3 separate regions of the Homo sapiens genome follow, and regions 1 and 2 are each linked to region 3. The links are contacts of gene promoters, found by promoter capture Hi-C in blood cells and fetal thymus (Javierre and others, 2016). All regions are on one chromosome and are shown on one strand. Each heading gives the region's core, a stretch centred on a gene start or on the middle of the fragment in contact. The rest is flanking DNA. Distances are from core to core; before and after follow the strand shown.

Region 1 (3,955 bases), core at 1,191-3,690, 570 kb before region 3:
CAAACAGTGGAATCACCGACAAAAAGCACAAAGATGAGAAAAATGTAGCACCAAAGACTGCAAAAATGACATTTGCTTACAATATGAGAGTTGACAAGAAGGCAGTGTCACCTTGTTTGACTTCAGTTGAGAACATGTGCATCAGGCAACTAAAATTTTTCACGTGAAAAAATGTCATGTCTTCCAAAGACCACAAAAGCATTGTAAGTATTAATTTGAGGGCTACAGACAAATTTTAGTAAGTAGGTGAATTCATAAATACAGAATCCACAAATAATGAGGATAGACTGTATGCTAAAATTTTATCAAAATACAAAAACATATGTGCTTCTTTACTGACACATTATATATGTGATCTAGAAGCAAATTTAATAACTACCATAATTTCGAAGTTGCAATGAGCTTACACAATATCATGATATGAAAATATCTATAATTTATATTCATAACAAAGTCACACTGCTAATAATGTGATTTGTTGCCTACATTCACAGTGGAAGAAAATGCTAAATTTCAGTTGGAGGTTAGGAAACATAAAGATGCAATTTTTCCTCTCAGCCAAGTTCACGGCCCTCGCAATTCTACCCATTGGCAGTTTAAGGGACCACACAGTTAAGGCATCCAGGTTCAGGTTACTTTCTTTAAATCTGCCAGCCTAAAAAGCTGCCGAAGGTTTTCCAATAACAGGAAATCAAACAAACAAACAATTTATAACTAATCCTTGCCTATGAAGATCTCAAATTGGTAGTGTTTTGTTTTGGTTTTGTAAAGACAAGTTCTCATTATGTTGCCCAGGCTGGTATCAAACTCCTGGCCTCAAACGATCCTCTTGTCTTGGCCTTCCAAAGTGCTGGGATTACAGACAGGTTGGTAGTGTTTTATTCATTTGTGACCCATGAACAGGGTTCTTTCTGCCCAGGGTAGGAAAGACAGGAAAGTGCTCAAGCCAGTTTGGCTAATGGGAATGGTATTCAACCTCTGCTTCAGCACAGCCTTCTGCCTGCTGAAGCACAGGCTTGTCCTCTTCCCTGTCATTCTGGGCCTCACATTTGGCAATGGATAGAAACAAAAAAAGGAGGAAGGCTTGCGGTAAGCCAGCTTCCAAAAACCCGGGCTCCAAAAGACAAGGGTGTGATTCTATCAATGAGTGCACATTTGAGGATGTACAATGAATCCGGTCCTATTTTAAGTAATACACAAAGATTTAGCTCACTGAAACCTCATAACCCCGCTTACTAGGTACAGTAGTTCTTTAGCTGAGGTTTTGATTTCCACAGTTCCAGAGGTCAACCGTAGTCCAAAAATAGGTGAGTAGAGTGCAGTAAGATATTTTGAGAGAGACCACATTCACATACATTTTATTACACTGTTATAATTCTATTTTATTATTATTGTTGTTATTCTCTTATTGTGCCTAATTTACGAATTAAACTAAGTAATCACAGGTATGTATGTGTAATCTGTATGAGAAAAAACACAGTATAGATGCTCCTCAACTTACAATGGGGTTACTTCCCAATAAACCTATGTAAAGTTGAAAAATTGTAAGTCAAACCACGGTAAGTCAGTCAGGGTCCTTCACTATCCAAGATTTCAGACATCCACTGGAACGTACACCCCGCAGATAAGGGGGGAACTACTATTTTTTTATTATCAGTTCCACTTTTCTAGTAAGAAAAGGGAGGCTTAGAAGCGGTTAAGGAAGCTTCCCCAAGGGACACTAAAAGGTGGATACAAGCTATAGTATAGGCTACCAAGATACACTACCTCTTACTTCAGGGTCTTATGAAGGTCAGAGCTAAGAGACTTTAGACCTTAGCCCTCTCTTGCCATCTTCTCTCTTTGGGAAACTTTTCCCTAAATTTCCTAGGCAGAATTCATCACTGACTCAGTGTTTCCAAGGAACACTACAGATGCCTCTATGAAACTACTCAGGCAAGTCAACAGCCCACAGTATTGCACGGTACTTGGCGTAAAGCGAACCCAGCCTCTGTCTGTACCCGTCCAGTGATGTCTGTATCTGTCCAGCACGCTACCTAAGACAGCGTGGCCCACTACTGGAAAACTTCGGTTAATACAGCCCTCCCAGCTACGGATAAATGATCTCCTCCGCAGAGAAACCAGCCCTAATCTCGATACTGCCCAGAACATTCTCAGGACGCAAAAGGAGGCCACCCACGGGCCTCCCCCACTCCCCTCAGGCCCCGTACACCGAGGAACAGCCAGGGCAAATGGAGCCATGGAAGCCACCCTCAGGCCCCAGGGCCTGGAGCATCCCTGAACGGACCTGCTTACAGGCAGCCTCGGGCCCAACCTCGCTCACTCGCCCTCTGGCCTGGACTGTCAACGGCCCTAATGACCCCAATCCCCAACGGCCCTGCGCTCCAACTCACCACTGCACTGCCAGGCTGCACGTCGGAAGCCGGGCTCCGCGCGACTGCGACGCGCAAAGATGAGCTATCGAAGGGGCGGGGCATCGCGCCGGCCCCGCCCTCACGGCTCGGAGCACTCCGCAGCGCCCGTTGCCGTCGCTATGGCGGGCGCGGGGCAGACGCCGACGAGGGTGGGCGGAGAGAGGAGGGAGGAAGCCAGGTCCTGCTTCCAGAGGAGTGGTAGTTGGAAATTTGCTTCCGGAAGCGCAGACGTTTAGCTTCCGGCAACTGCAGGTTTAGAGGTTTGTGTTGCAATTTCATTTTGTACTTTTGAGATTGGACTAAAGCTAATAACTTCTGTTGCTGAAATAAATTCAGTGAAATCGAGCTTTGTCTTTCAAACTGCTAGTCATGACCCATTAACGTGACAGATATCAGTTTAATAGGTTGTCAACTGACTTTTTTTTTTTTTTTTTTTGAGGGCCAGGCAGAGTAGCTCACGTCTGTAATCCCAGGACTTTGGGAGCCGAGGTGAGAGGCTTGCTTGAGCTCTGGGTTTCCAGACCAGCCTGGGCAACATAGCGAGAGACCTCGTGTCTACTAAAAATAAAAACAATTAGCACATGCCTGTAGTTCCAGTTACTTGGGAGGCTGAGGCAGGAGGATCGCTTAAGCCCTGGAGGTTGAGGCTACATTGAGCCGTGATGACGCCACTGCACTCCAGCCTGGGGAACAGAACTAGACCCCGTCTCAAAAAAAAAAAAAGAGATGGGGCTGGGTGTGGTGGCTCATGCCTGTAATCCCAGCATTTTGGGAGTCGGAGTGGGTGGATCACTTGAGGTTAGGAGTTTTGAAATCAACCTGGCCAATATGGTGAAACCCCGTCTCAAGTAAAAAAAAAAAAAACAGAAACAAAAACAAAATTAGCCGGGTGTGGTGGCATGTGCCCGTAATCCCAGCTACTTGGGAGGCTGAGGCAGGAGAATCGCTTGAACCCTGGAGGCAGAAGTTGCAGTGAGCACAGATCACACCACTGCACTCCAGCCTGGGCAACAGAGTGAGACTGTCTCGAATAACAACAACAAAAAAAGATGGGAAGAGGCTCATGCCCCATTATGGAGGCCGCCCTGTGGCTCAGATGTGGTGGCTCACTCCTGTAATCCCAGCACTTTGGGAGGCCAAGGGGGGAGGATTGCTTCTGGCCGTGATTTCAAGACCAGTATGGGCAACATGGCGAGACCCAATCTCTACAAAAAATTTTAAAGTTACAGACGCAGTGGTGTGCACGTGTAGACCCAGCTGCTCAGGAGGCAGAAGTGAGGATCACTTGAGCCCAGGAGTTTGAGGCTGCAGTGAGCTATGATTGGGCCACTGCACTGTAGCCTGGGTGACAGAGTGAGACCCTGGCTCTAAAAAATATTTTTCGAAAAAACTAGTTTTGAAGTTCAAATATATATATAGAGAGAGAGACGGAGGACTATTAGACCACTTACAACTAGGTGAAGTTCATCTTTGGGGGCTTTTTTTTCTTTTGAGACTGAGTCTTGCTGTGTCACCCAGGCTGGAGTGCAGTGGCGCAATCT
Region 2 (3,762 bases), core at 725-3,224, 790 kb before region 3:
GGCTGTCTGCACCCACTTACAGACAGGACAGGGGAGCCCAAGAGAACATGGGAATCAGATCCTGCTTGAACTGGCAAAAGCTGAGTCAGCAAAGCTCTAAGAACATCTCCAGGGAGCAGCTCCAGCTGTTAGCAGCTCTGGGGGTCTGAGGAACAGTCCTCAGCTCACAAGGCCAGGAGTTTGCCTAGTCTGCTCTCCGTGTGGCCAGCTTTGAGAGCACTTTCATACATCCCAGCCCAACCCTGTTGCTCTGGAGAAAGCCCAACCTGGAATACGGAAGAGGAGTGAGAGTGAGGGTGGAGACTCACAGAAACCAGGCAGGGAGCAAAGCCTGGAAAAAGGATACCCAGCTCCAGGCCTGGGCCCAGATCCCTCCAGATGCTCAAAGCAGGTGGGCCCCTAGGAGGTGACAGTCTAGTCCCCCAGAACTCCCAAGGACAGGGGAGGCCTTTCAGCACCAGGACTCCTGACTCTACTCTCCTGCTTCTACACTGTATCTCTCATTTTGTCTGTCCACTGGAGGATTAAGGGAGCCTCAAAGGAGCAAGGCATAACTGGCTGAAAAGACCCCCTCCCACCCATCCTGGACAAAGCAAGGAGGAAGAACACAGGATCTGCCACCTACTGGCTGTGTGACCTTAGCTGGAGCATCCCCGTCCACTCTGGAGGAAAATGTAGTGGACTGTCTCTAAGGGCCCTGCCATCTGACTCTTTCTGTCTACAGTGCTAAATGCACTCTGGCTCACGCCTGGCATCCCAGCACTTTGGGAAGCTGGATGGGGAGGATGGTTTCGGCCCAGGAGTTCGAGACTAGCCTGGGCAACATAGTGAGACCCCCGTTTCTTTAAAAAAAAAAAAAAATTTAATTAGCCAGGCGTGGTGGCCCGCACCTGTGGTCCCAGCTACTTGGGAGGCTGAGGTGGGAGGATCTCTTGAGCCCAGGCATGGAGGCTGCAGTGAGCCGAGATCGCACCCCTGCACTCCAGCCTGGACAACAGAACAAGATCCTGTCTCAAAAAGAATAAATAAACAAATAAATAAAAGCACTGACATTTACTGAGCAGTTTAAAGTATAATTCATTTAATCCCAACACCCCATGAGGTAGATACTACTGTTATCCCATTTTACAGAGGAGGCCGCTGCAGCCCAGAGCGGTTCACTGAGGTACCAAGGCCATAGGCAAAGTTCTAAAGGAGGCCCCAGGGGTAGAAGCCTACGCTCACGGATGCCTGGGAAGGCTGCACAGGACATCCACGGGATGGTGGGGGTCGGGAGACACCAGAGACTGGCCCGAGGTTAGGCGCAGAGGGAGATAATGGGTCAAGGTGTCTGAGAAAGGAGACGGGGCTTGGTAGCCCCAGCGAGACTGGCCTAAGCCCAGATAGTGGGGAGGAGATAGGAACGAGGGCGGGATGTGGAGAAGCAGGGAAAGGCAGGCCGACGTGGGCAGGGGCGAGGAGGCCTTGGAGGAAGGAGGGTGGATGGCGCAAGCCAGTGGCGGAGGCAGGGGACGCCGGCGGAAGCGCGCGGGCGGCTTTGGGGCGAGCGGTCCCACCTTGAGCACCGTGACGGCTCCCGCGCTGTGCACCTGGAAGTGCGCGGGCGGCTCCGTGCCCGGCTCCGCCGCCTCGTCGGGGCCCTGGTAGCTGAAGCAGGCGTCCGCGATGTCCAAGTGGCCGAGGGGCAGCGCGTCCTGCGGACTCTTGAAATAGTAAAGGTAGCAGCGGCGCGCGTCGAACACGAACCAGCGGCTGCGGTAGCCACGCAGGGGGCCCTTGCCCGACAGCTTCTGCAGATAGCCACACAGCCGCGCTGGCTCCCGCGCCGGACCCGCCCCGGGCTCCGCGGCCGCCCCCTGCGCCGCGCCCTCGCCGCCGCCGCCGCCCTCCTCCGCCCGGGCTCCGGCCCCCGGCATCGCTACCGCGCGCCAACCGTAGGCGCCCGCGCCCTGCGCCTCCGCGCCGCGGCCGCTGCGCCCCCTACCCCCTCCGCACCGCCCCTTCGCTCCGCACGGCCCGCGGGCGCGCAAAGCACCCTGGGACTTGTAGTCTCGCCCCCGCCCGCCCGCCGGCCGTTGCCCCCTCAGCCCCCGGAGGCAGGGTCCTGCGACCAGCACCCCGCGGGTCAGTTGCCTTCGTGCCACCTGGGCTCCAAGTCCTCGCCCTGCCGGATGAAGCAATGGTCTATTTCTTTATGGCAGTGTAGGTACATGGGAGTGTGCATCTCTCAAAACCCAGCGGAGTGTCCGCTTAAAACTGCATTTCACACTGTGTATCTTATTCTAAAAACTTGATATTTAAATCTCCCTCCTGCCAGAGTCTCAAGCTAATATTGTAAAAATGAGACAGCCTATTGCCTGGTGCTGAGTGGGTGCTCAGTAAATATTTGCAGAATTCATGAAAGCCAAAGCGTTTCCTGCCTCTCCAGACCTCAGTTCATTTATTGAATTCAACATATATTTATTGAGCGCCTTCTGAATGCCGGGTACGGTTCTGTATGCCAGGCCCTGGCGGATACAGCAGTGAACAAACCAATCATTCTCCTGCCCTCGTGGAGGTTATATTCTAGTAAGGCAGGGAGGTGACACACAAGAAAGCAGATAAAAGTAATGTGTGCTATGTTGTATAAATGCCGTGATGACATGTAAATGATTACCGCTTAAAATAGCACCTAGTATTTATCAGTGCTTTATAGACTAACTTATTTGAACACTCACAACCTGAGAAGGCAAATCTATTGCTTTGTAATAAAGCAAAGAGAAAGAATGAATAAGACCAAGTATTTGCTAGCACAACAGGGTGACTACAGTCAAAAATAATATAATTGTACGTTTAAAAATAACCAAAAGAGTATAATACAGACGCGGTGGTTCACGCCTGTAATCCCAGCAGTTTGGGAGGCCGAGGTGGGTGGATCACCTGAGGTCGGGAGTTCGAGACCAGCCTGACCAACATGAAGAAACCCTGTCTCTACTAAAAATACAAAATTAGCTGGGCGTGGTGGTGCATGCCTGTAATCCCAGCTACTCGGGAGGCTGAAGCAAGAGAATCTCTTGAACCCCGGAGGTGGAGGTTGCAGTGAGCCGAGGTTGCGCCATTGCACTCCAGCCTGGGCAACAAGAGCAAAACTCTGTCTAAAAAGAAAAAAAAAAGTATAATAGGATTGTTTGTAACACAAAGGATAAATGCTTGAGGTGATGGATACCTTACTTACCCTGATTTGATTATTATGCATTGCATGCCTGTATTAAAATATCTCATGTAACCCATAAATATATACACCTACTATGTTCCCACAAGAATAAAAAATAAGTAAAAAGCAAAGTGAGAGGATGAAGTGATGGGGGGCAGATAGCAGGCTGCTGCCCCAGGACAGGCAAGGAGGCTGGTCTGATCCTGTGACATGGAGCACAAACCCAGATGATGGGAGGGACAGGGGCAACCAGAAATGTGGGTGAAGCATTCCAGGGAGAGGGAATAGTGAGTACAAGAGCTCACTTTATTCAAAGGAAAAAGGAAGTGTATAGCTACATAGCTACATTTGTGAAAGCCCAAACCAAATATCTCACCCTCATAGATTTGCATGTTTTATACAGACACACTGAAAGACCCAGGTGGAAAACTGACCTTTCTGAGCTGGACAGGGACACAAATTAGACTGCCTGTTTGGAGCCACCCAGGTAGGAAGGGCAGGTTCTGGGTCCTCACCCAGCCTGCCGACTCTCTGCAGGCCCTAAAGTGGCACCACGCAAGCATTCCTTT
Region 3 (4,324 bases), core at 252-2,751:
CGGGTGGATCACCTGAGGTCAGGAGTTCGAGAACAGCCTGGCCAACATGGTGAAACCCCATCCCTACTAAATATACAAAAATTAGCCGGCCATAGTGGTATGCGCCTGTAAACCCAGCTACTTGGGAGGCTGAGGCAGAAGAATCGCTTCAATCTAGGAGGTGGAGGCTGCAGTGAGCTGAGACTGCACCACTGCACTCTAGCCTGGGTGACAGAGTGAGACTTGGTCTCATAACAACAACAACAACAAAAAATTGGCTGGGCGCAGTGGCTCATGCCTGTAATCCCAGCACTTTGGTAGGCCAAGGCAGGAGGATCATAAGGTCAGGAGATCGAGACCATCCTGGCCAACATGGTGAAACCCCATCTCCACTAAGATACAAAAAAGTAGCTGGGCGTGATGGCACACCGAGTCCCAGCAACTCAGGAGGCTGAGGCAGGGGAATCGCTTGAACCCAAGAGGCAGAGGTTGCAGTGAGCTGAGACTGTGCCACTGCACTCCAGCCTGGCTACGGAGCGAGACTGTCTCAAAAAAATAATTTAAAAAAAGTACGTATTTTATATTCAATAAAAAATTTAAAAGTGTACAGGACAGTTTTGGTGGGGTGGGGTCCAAAGAAGCCCTTGTCCCTTTTTACAATTTAGCAATGGTGTCCAAGGGAGTGAATACAGTCATGGGTTCTTAGTTTCTGTTTCTGGTTGGGCCAGTAAAGCCCCTTCCTCATCCCCCTTTTCCACTTATCACTAGAGACTGAAACTAAAAACCATGGCTTCAGGGTGCTAAAAGCCTAAACAAAACAAAACAAAACAACAACAAAATAAGACAGGTTGGACAAGCTTGCGAGAAGTAGTCGTGACAAGATGGTGTATATTCAACTGGAATAAGGAAGGTTTTTGTGGGTTTCTGTTGTCAGAGAAGGGGTTGTGTTAAAAAGACTGAAGGAGAAATGGAAGTCAGATAAATGGAGAGGGGCCCGGAATTGGTGGGGTGTGGAACCCGGGCAGGGGAGGGCTTAGAAAAGCCATGGAGACAGGCTGGGCGCAGTGGCTCACGCCTGTAATCCCAGCACTCTGGGAGGCCGAGGCCAGCGGGTCACCTAAGGTCGGGAGTTCAAGACCAGCCTGACTAACATGAAGAAACCCCATCTCTACAAAAACACAAAAATTAGCCCGGTGTGGTGTCACATGCCTGTAATCCCAGCTACTCGGGAGGCTGAGGCAGGAGAATCGCTTGAACCTGGGAGGCAGAGGTTGCAGTGAGCTGAGATCGCGCCTTTGCACTACAGCCTGGTTAATAAGAGGGAAACTCCGTCTCAGAAAGAAAAAAAAAAAAAAGAAAAGTCATGGAGACAAAGGTTTGCGTAGGAGGATAAAGGTTTACATAGGGGATGCAGGTAGGCTAAGGGCTGTTTGTGGAAGGATTTAAATACCAGGCTAAGGACTTTGAGATTTATCGTCTAAAGTTCATTGAGCACTTATTCATTGTTGGGTACCGCGCTAAGCCCGTATATGTAATTCTCACAATAAACTGACGGAAATGGTGCTATTTTGCAGCTTAGCCAACAAAGTTGTTTTTGAACAGGGAACGACATAAATCCGTTTGTTTAGGCCAGGCACGGTGGCTCACGCCTGTAATCCCAGAACTTTGGAAGGCCAAACCGGGCGGATCACGAGGTCAGGAGTTCCAGACCAGCCTGGCCAACATGGTGAAACCCAGTATCTACTAAAAATACAAAAATTAGCTGGGCGTGGTGGCACATGCCTGTAATCCCAGCTACTCCGGAGGCTGAGGCAGGAGAATCGATTGAACCTGGGAGGCGAAGGCTGCAGTAAGCAGAGATCGCGCCACTGCACTCCAGTCTGGGCAACGGAGCGACACTCCATCTCAGAAAAAAAAAAAAAGGTATAATATTGAAGAAATCCGTTTGTTTAGAGTGACAAGAAGCACAAACAGGGCAGGTACGGAATACAGACGTTGACATATTCACACTAGCCTTTTTCAGAAAGCAGAGCTCCATTATCTCAAAAAGCTAAAGCGTGACTAGTGTTTCCCACGTCATCATCCTCATTTCCGCAAGGCTGGGCTGGAGAAGAGGAGGTAGACCTAGGAGCCAACAAATGGCTATCAATCCCACCAAATAGGCTCCGCAGTGGGGTTGCTAAACAACGAAGCTTCCAGAAGCGGACCCCAGTTCCCACCCTCTTGCTGATCCTAAAGCCTTTCTATGCAAAAACTAGCGGAATGCTATTGAATGTAGGTTTCCGAGCCAGCCCTATTCTCTCCGACTACTTCAACATCAACGGGGGCTTATTTGCCCAAGGGACGTCGCAACTGGGCCTTTCCCATTCTATTATCACTGGTGGCTCACCACCCCCACTCTCCCCCATCGCCAGCTCCGCCTTAACCTCCCACGAAATCAAATCCCCGCTTTACCAACCCGCAGCAGCCGGGGGCATGGAGAGAGAAGCGGGGGTGGGGTGGGGTAGGGTAGCCGGCCCCTCCCCCACCCGGGGGGGGGGGGGGGGCGCCTCCACCGACTCCGAACTACCAGTCCCGGCGTGCCCTGGGGCGGCGCGGGCGCAGGGGCGCGTGCGCGGCGGGCTGTCGTTGGCTGGAGCAGCGGCTGCGCGGGTCGCGGTGCTGTGAGGTCTGCGGGCGCTGGCAAATCCGGCCCAGGATGTAGAGCTGGCAGTGCCTGACGGCGCGTCTGACGCGGAGTTGGGTGGGGTAGAGAGTAGGGGGCGGTAGTCGGGGGTGGTGGGAGAAGGAGGAGGCGGCGAATCACTTATAAATGGCGCCGAAGCAGGACCCGAAGCCTAAATTCCAGGAGGGTGAGTGTGCGCCTTTGGGAAAAAGGCACCTAACGGCGCAGGAGATAGAGGCGGGCTCGAGGTGATTGAGGCTTGAGGGCCGGGGGCGGCGCGGGCTGCGCCCTGAGAAGGCGGCGGTCAGTGCTTTGTGCGGGGAAAGCGCATTGCGGATGGCAATTCCGGTGCGTCATTGTGAGAAAGCGCTTTGTGAAGCGAGAGTGCTGCGCAGGCGTTAGAGTGGGAGAGAGAGCGTTTGGCGCGTGGCACACCCTCGTCAAGTGTTTGTTATTGTTCTGAGGAAGAGGGCGCGGAGAGAGCAGCCTATTGTAGGGAGGCGACGGGAGCGCCATGGCGGCGGTTAGGGGAAGTGATGTGGCGGCGGGGGGGGAGGGGCGGTGGCTGTTTCGGGCGGTCCTGCGGCGCGCCCGGCCGCTTGGGCAGCTACGACGGGTTTTTCGGTGCTTCCTGGAGCCCCGGGGTGGTTGCGTTCGGTGGCAACTCAGCTGCGGATGGGGGTGGGTTTGGCGCCACGGGGCGGGAGAAGTGCGTTGTAAAATGGCCGTTGCAAGATGGCGGCGCCATCATGGCCGCCGGCGTCTCGGTCCCGTATGGAGGCACAGCTTACGGGCAGATGCAGCGCCCCCTTCCACGACGACCAGAAGGTTGCCGGGGCCCTCCGCATACCACAGAGTGGTGGGTGGGGACAGAAAAAAAAAAGTGAGATGAGCGTTTTCCTCCGCTTTGTGTTGCCTGGAGGCATCACTCTGCTATTCTTGGGCGCAGTGCCGAGATCCTATGGTAATGTGAGTGAGCTCTCGCTTTGCAGTTGCTCGTAAAAAGTAAATAAAAATGATCTGAATGCAGTGTTGACGCCGTTTGCATTTGTAAGTCCCATTGCCTCGACGTCATTTTTTAAATGCAGTAATTGTTTGATTAGTTGCAGTGTTTAACAATGACTTGAAAGTTGAATTTCTTTTTATTAATTGGTTTTCGATTGACATGAGTTTTGGGTAAGGTTAGACTGACTCCCAGTGGAAGGCAGCTCTTTAAATTTTCACAACGCTTCAGTTAACGTATAATAAGGTGGAGGTCTAATAGCTAAAAAGGAAGTAAAGTCCTGTTGAGAAAGGAGGAACACTTTAACATTCCTTTTCATTGCTATGGAAATTTATGCTAGTTACCGTAAATACGATGTCTACATGCGTACGATTTTTGTTCTAGGGGTTTTTAGACTTGCATTAGAATTCCTTTTAGAGCCGTAAACCTCAAACCGTAGTACTGCGTATTTTAAGTTTATGGAATATTTAAGGAGGTTTTAGGGGTATTTTGTTAATGAGTGACTTTTTTTGTTTGTATTTTTGAGACGATGTTTGTCACCCAGGCTGTAGTGCAGTGACGCTATCTCGGCTCACCTCTGCCCCCCACCCGGGCTAAAGCGAGCCTCCCAAGTAGCTGGGATCACAGACGCGCGCCATCACGTCCGGCTAAGTTTTGTTTTGTTCTGTTTTGTTTTT

Evidence for each region. The method cuts DNA at HindIII sites, captures the fragments that hold promoters and counts their contacts. A CHiCAGO score of 5 or more calls a contact.
Region 1: a contact is called between the fragment with the promoter of SKIC8 here and a fragment that was not itself captured in region 3, in 5 of 17 cell types (fetal thymus, non-activated CD4 T cells, naive CD8 T cells and 2 more). The highest score is 12.3, in fetal thymus.
Region 2: a contact is called between the fragment with the promoter of TBC1D2B here and a fragment that was not itself captured in region 3, in 1 of 17 cell types (activated CD4 T cells). The highest score is 5.3, in activated CD4 T cells.

The regions. Positions count from the first base shown.
Region 1 is chr15:78,297,169-78,301,123 of GRCh38, forward strand. SKIC8 (SKI8 subunit of superkiller complex) reads right to left here and starts at 2,441. Exons shown (of 11, transcript NM_025234.3): 1 at 2,394-2,441. RefSeq lists enhancers at 1,639-2,606, 2,159-2,508, 2,607-3,573, 2,749-2,838. The HindIII fragment of the contact is 6,178 bases long and covers 1,704-3,955 here.
Region 2 is chr15:78,075,737-78,079,498 of GRCh38, forward strand. TBC1D2B (TBC1 domain family member 2B) reads right to left here and starts at 1,975. Exons shown (of 13, transcript NM_144572.2): 1 at 1,557-1,975. The coding sequence starts at 1,916. RefSeq lists silencers at 1,451-1,650, 1,851-2,060, 2,211-2,260. The HindIII fragment of the contact is 13,244 bases long and covers 1-3,762 here.
Region 3 is chr15:78,870,227-78,874,550 of GRCh38, forward strand. MORF4L1 (mortality factor 4 like 1) reads left to right here and starts at 2,664. Exons shown (of 12, transcript NM_006791.4): 1 at 2,664-2,831. The coding sequence starts at 2,792. RefSeq lists silencers at 2,436-2,695, 3,106-3,165, 4,167-4,276 and enhancers at 3,251-3,882, 3,276-3,515. The HindIII fragment of the contact is 1,335 bases long and covers 835-2,169 here.